2 separate regions of the Homo sapiens genome follow, and region 1 is linked to region 2. The links are contacts of gene promoters, found by promoter capture Hi-C in blood cells and fetal thymus (Javierre and others, 2016). All regions are on one chromosome and are shown on one strand. The core of a region is centred on a gene start or on the middle of the fragment in contact, and the rest is flanking DNA. Distances in the headings are between cores, read along the strand shown.

What was found. The method cuts DNA at HindIII sites, captures the fragments that hold promoters and counts their contacts. A CHiCAGO score of 5 or more calls a contact.
Region 1: a contact is called between the fragment with the promoter of AVPR2 here and the fragment with the promoter of HCFC1-AS1 in region 2, in 1 of 17 cell types (monocytes). The highest score is 5.6, in monocytes.

What each region holds. Positions count from the first base shown.
Region 1 is chrX:153,903,172-153,905,922 of GRCh38, reverse strand. AVPR2 (arginine vasopressin receptor 2) reads right to left here and starts at 1,250. Exons shown (of 4, transcript NM_000054.7): 1 at 1,152-1,250; 2 at 753-949; 3 at 1-391. The coding sequence starts at 777. The HindIII fragment of the contact is 5,945 bases long and covers 1-2,751 here.
Region 2 is chrX:153,967,168-153,970,347 of GRCh38, reverse strand. HCFC1-AS1 (HCFC1 antisense RNA 1) reads right to left here and starts at 1,583. Exons shown (of 3, transcript NR_046608.3): 1 at 1,278-1,583; 2 at 977-1,149; 3 at 257-563. The region is part of intron 1 of HCFC1 (host cell factor C1); the gene reads left to right. RefSeq lists an enhancer at 1-159 and a silencer at 946-1,124. The HindIII fragment of the contact is 6,911 bases long and covers 1-2,073 here.

The DNA.
Region 1 (2,751 bases), core at 1-2,500, 64 kb after region 2:
CGGTGGCGGTCCAGCGTCATGGCCAGGATCATGTAGGAGGAGGCATACATGCCCACCATCTGCAGATACTTCACGGCCCGACACAGGGCATCTGGCCCACGGAAGCGGTCGGTGGCCTTCCAGGCCAGCTGGGGCAGCACTTGGAACAGAGCCACGGCCAGGTCGGCCAGGCACAAGTGGCCAATGAAGACGTGTATGGGTGCCCAGTGGCCCCGCCGGCCCCGCCGAGCTAGGGCCGCCAGCACCAGGCCATTGCTCAGGGCCACAGCCACAAAGACTATGGAGAGCAGCGCCAGCTCCGCCCGGGCTAGCAGCGGGTCCCGGGTGTCCAGTGGCCTCTCCTGGCTGCTGTTGCTGGGCAGGCTGGGCAGAGAGGGATGCCCAGGCACAGCTGGGAAGGAGTCGGGAAGAGGGCCTGGTTAGAGAGGGTGCTGTGCAGGGGGACTCAGGCCTGCCTCCCGTGCCCCCATCCGGACACCCACTTCCTGGCTCCTAGCAGAGGGGACTCCAGGAAAGCCATGTTATGAGGGATACACACCCCAGGCTCATGCAGTCCAGAAGGAAGGGCAGCCCCAGCCCCAGCCCCAGCCCCAGCCCTGGCGGGGAAGTGGGGCTGTGCTCCCCTCCCCACTCATTGGCAGCCTGGAGAGACACACCCAGAGGTGAGGGTGAAGGAGGTCTTTAGAAAGAGGGGCTTCCCTGAATCGTCAAACCCACTCTGCCCACCGGACTCATGGAGGGGCAAGCCTTACCGGAAGTGGTGGACGCCATGAGCATGGTGGGGCTGGGGCAGGTGTTCTGAGGGCCTGGAGGTGATGTGCGGACTCAGCCTCTGCCTGAGGAGCAAGTTCAATGGCCCAGGGTCTCTGGACTGGAGCCCTTATAGAGATGCCAGCATGGCAGATGCCTGTTGGCGTGTGTGCACGTGTCGGTGGCAGTATGGCCAGTCCTGGGCAGGGAAGATTGAGAGGGATGGTCAGACAGACGGATGCACAGAACCCAGGATCCCCCAGGCAGCCCATGAGTCCCGGGTTTGGGAGTGGGCACCCCAGACAGACACGCAGAACTCCCCTGCCCCAACCGAGGCCGAGAGAGGCCACCATCCGAGGGCTGGGGACTGGGCAGGGGGGCAGGCAGGCGCAGCCCCTTACCTGGCTGGGCTCCTGGGCAGCTGGGCGGTGGCGTGAAGGTGGCTGGGTGCTCAGATCTGCTCTCCATCGGCTGCCCTGCCCTGGCCCAGCCCAGCCTCTGGGAGTGACCTGGCCAGGAGGGGACTTCCTCCCCCTCCCCCTTTCCCCCAGGCCTCCCCTGGCCTCCTGTTTCCCTTCCTTTCCCCAGGGCCTCCCTGGTCCCGGCCCAGGACTCCCTCCTCCCACTGCCATAGCCTCCACGCCCACCCTCACCCTACCACGCCCCCCTGGTTGGATTGTCTGGGTTGGCAGTGCTCTGGGAGGTCACTTAGTTCAGCATTCCCATTTTATAAGTGGGGAAACTGAGGCCAGAGAGCGGTGGGTCTGGCCCAGGACTGCGCTGCTTTTTCATGGGAGCTTCACGCCCCCTTCCCAAGTTGGGGTCCTCCTGCTCCTCGCTGGGCCCAGGCAAGGAAGGGGTGAAAACACTTTCGCTGGGCCCCTCCCAGGCCCACGCAGGCCCCTCCTCCTCCCCAGTTAGGGCCCAGTTGGCCGGAGACGAGGGACAGGAAAGGGAGGAGTGGGGCAGGGGCCAAGCCAGGCTTCACGAACCCCTGTGAGATCCAGGGACACCCCCACCCTCTTCCTCCTGCCCCACCTGCAACTACCTGTCCTAGGAAGAGGGGCTGGGGACCTCCGTGTGCTCACGGGCTCCCTCCCACCACACACAACCTCACATGATACAGCCACACAGCCACAAACACACAACACAGAGACGCTCGCTCATGTTCTTGAACATACCATGAGTATGGACGCACCTTCCCTGTACCTGAGCCCTCCTCCTCCCTCCCCCAACACCTCTCTCCTTCCCCTGTCCCCACACCCCCTCCAGCCCCCATCCCAGTAGTTCTCTTTCCACTCCCCCCGCACCCAGGCCTGGCTTGGCTCAGCCGAGGCCAGCCCAGCCCAGCCCAGCCCAAGGCAGCTGCTTTCTTCCTGTTTGTCTGTCTTCTCTGTTGCCTGTGAAGCCAGAGACCAAAACAGCCTCACGGACCAGGCCCAAGTCCGGCCCGCGGCCAAGGCCTCCTCTTCCTGCCCAGAGAGCCTGGCAGCACCCTGGCCCCTCCCGGCCCTGTTAGGGTGGTGGGAACACAGGGTGGGCATTTTCCAGAGACAGCGCACACACCACACCACATACATACATGCACACAGCCACACGCCACACACACATGCACCCACCACACACCCATACGCCACACCACACACACACCACACCATGCACACATATATTACACACCACACACATGCACACATCACACACTCCCATACGCCACACACCCACACATGTACCCACCACACAGCCATACACACCACATACGCACAGCCAACACCACACACGCACACACCCGCAGCACACACAGGTGCACATCACACCCCGCATCTTTGCCATGTTTTTGCAGAGCCCCTTGGGGGCAGGCTGCAGAGTGCTGGCACCCCAGGCCTGACGCTTCAGCTGCATCTCCTCAGCGCATGCACATCCTCATGCTGTCCCCAATAACCGCATGCTGTCACTAATCTAGGAGCATAGAAAAGGCCTTCCTAATGCCACCCAGATCAGTGG
Region 2 (3,180 bases), core at 334-2,833:
CTCCCGTGTTTGAGGATTGGTTTTCGTTAGTTAAAAGAAAGCCCCTAGTCCGACTGGTGAGGGAGAGGGGCTGTCGCCAGCGGTGGTGACTTCAGACCCACACCGTTACCCAGCGGGCTGGGGCTGGGGCTGGGGCGGGCGGATGTGTCCCCTTGGCGCAGGCAGAGCTCCCCTCCCTCCCTCCCTCCCTTCTCCTGCGCCTGCTCAGCTCTCCCTCATCTCGAGTGCCCATTCTGGAGAAATGACCATTTCTAGATTACAGATTCGTTCTCTGTCTCTCGAAAAAGGGAGGGAAGGGAAGCGCTCTTAGGACGCAGAGTTTAACATCCGCCGACCCGGGTAATGCCGGAGCCTTGGGGACCCCTAGGACGGGCCGGCGGCAGGGCCGCCTCTCCCTTTCCACGTTTACTTCTGCAGCATTTCTTTCCAAGTCGCCCCTTCTCCTAATCTGGTGCCTTCTGGTTTACAAGCTGAATTCCAGTTACCCCTCAGCGGCCTGCGTAGTCGTGTGTCTCCCCGCTTCTGCGGATCCAGGGGGTTACCCCACCCGCTCTTCTGCCTCCCTGCAAAACCCAAAGCCCGTTAGTTGGGAAGGGGAGGAACCTCTCTCTTCAGGTATGGCTGATGCACCACGGCCTTCGTGGGGGCCGTTTGTTGTTGCCTCTGCCTAGTAGCCTTGCTTAGTCTCTAGGGCAGAAAGCCTGCTGCTGTCCACGACAGCTTTGTGGCATCCTTTTTCTTGGTGGCTACTTGGCCCGTTTTGTGCCCCTAGCACAAGGGTCAGTTCCCAAGTTGCCTACTGACTGCCCGTTGGCCCACAGGACCCTGGCCTTGCCCAGAAGGCAGGGTCAGGGTGAGTTCGGTCCCAGGCAAGAGCTGGAAGAGTCTGGGTGAGGGAAAAGCCCCCTGCAGGCGGCTGGGGGAGGGCCTTGGGATGCCCTAGTCCTGAGTGGCAGGCACGGCTCCCAGCACTAACCCCTTGCTCCGCGGCCGTTCTCTCCTGGGGGCTCTAGCGATCCCCTGGCCTCGGTGGTGGCCCTGCAGACAAACCCTCGCTGAGTGGGCTTTGTGTCCTGAGCGGTGAGAGGCTGCTGTTCTTTGGCTGAGCTCCAGTGCCTCGATGCTCTGGGGGTGGGAAGCTGGAGCTGCCTGGAGGGAGAAAGTTGGTTTAGGGAGTTGGGAAGGCTGGAGCTGGGCTCTTGGGTGCCGCTTCCTTCCCCACCCCCCAAGGCAGAAAGTGCTGGTTTCTCCACATCTCGGAGATTATCGCCACCTACCACGTTGACTTTGAAAGGCTGGTGGGTTGTCTGTGACCGTTTTTCGTTCCAGGTCTCTCAGCACCTGTTGCCTCCAGGGAGCAGGGCCTTTCTCAGCAGCCCCCGGGCGGGGGCGCTTGGTGGTTGGTGGTGCCCCGCGCCAGCCCAGGCAGCTGCAGTAGCAGGAATTAGCTCAGTAAGCTAAGGCTTCTCCAGTGGTGGGGCTGTTTATAGAGGCACCGTCACCATGAGCAGCACCTTCTCCACTCTGTGGACCGACTTTCTTCTCATAAGGCCTGGAGCAGGCTCCCTGGCAGGGAAATGCAATTTTAGAAAGTAGGGCAGGGGCCTAATTACAGTCGGCTCCAGAGTCCACCACCACTGCTGCCTTGGCTTCCTGGGGCCTCTGCATATTCATTAGTTTATTAAAATGAATTGACCACTTTGGCATGAATTCATTACCAGTCTGCAAAGACAGGTTGTGCATTAGAGGGGTAGCCTGCCTTCCAAAGGGCTGCTTAAAATGAAGCTCTGGGATCCTCCAGGGTAGCAGTTTGGAAACTGTCATCGGCAATTCCTCAGACGAGAGAGCAGCTGGCAGACCTGAAGCCCTCTTCCTCACCGGGGTTTCTGCCCCCTCCCGCCAGCCCGGCCTCGTCACCTTTGTCTTGTCTTCTTTTGTTGTGTTTGGGATGAGATCAGGGCATATTCTCACGCCTGTGCCCCTTGCAGTTCTGCGGGATCAGTCCTCAAAAAGCCTTGTACCTTTGGAGAGAGCTGATCTGGAAGGGGTTCCCGTTGCTAGGATAAGAAAGCTTCAGGGGGTGTGTGCTTTGAGAGCTCTTAGGGTAGCTACTGTGCTTGTCCTTAGGGAATTTTAGTTCCATGTGGCAAGCCAAAGGATTCAGAGTGCTGCCAGGTGTGGGGGGTGGGGGAGCGAGAGCTTTGGCTACGGTGGCTCTGTAATGTCCATAGGTTCTTGGAGCTGGAGGGAGCCTTGGAAAATACCTAGTGGAACTACTTCCTTGTTTCTGCAGATGAGGAAATTGGGGTCCAAGAGGGGAAGTGACAGGTCCAGGGTCGCCCTCCCAGCTGGTGGCGGAGTTGGGCGGGAGTGCAAACCTTCATAGAGGCCGTTCTGCCACCTGTCTTTGGGGCCCATCACCTTTGAAATGCCTCCATTCTCTCCTCTGTCCCTGTATCTAATTGTTCATTGCGTTGGGCAGGCATCAAATGTGTCCCCTTCCACACCAAGCCCTCCTCTCCTCTTACTAGACTCTTGCAGTCACTTCCTGATTGGCCCTGCTAGTTTCATTTGTCGGGAAATCCTGTTCACCCTTCAAGGCCCGGCTGAAACGTCACCTCTTCTGAGAAGCCCTTTCCACTCCTGTCCTCCCCTCTCCAGCAGTCGCACTGCTCTGTGCTCCCAAGGGCCCGGCTTGGTCAGAGCTCTTCTAGGGTGTTTGTCTCATCGTGGGAGGGGGGCATGCAGCCTTCCTACCCCATTGGGAGTATGAGCACAAGATCGGTGTCCTCTGTGCCTCCCAGCACGTCGTATGCCACACAGGAAATGCTCTAATGTGACAGGTAGAACAGAGAGGAAGGCAGCTCGTTGAACTTGACCGGCCACCTCACTGCATGGGCACCAGTCTCTAGGTGGTGATGGGACAGTGGCAACCAGGGATGGAGCTTGCAGAGCATGAAGTGGTTGGGGGAGCTGATGAAACACAGAGAGGCCGGGGCACAGCCTTGCTCAGGAGAGGGGAGCTGGAGTGGTCTTCATCTAGTGCAGGGTCCTTTCCCCACCTTCCCCTCCCAGCTGAGAGCCAGCATTTCCAGGATGAGGGGCCCAAGGATTGGGTTACATGACACCCCCCAGATGATTCAGGGGTGACTGAGAGCAGCTGTCACATTGAAAAGCTGG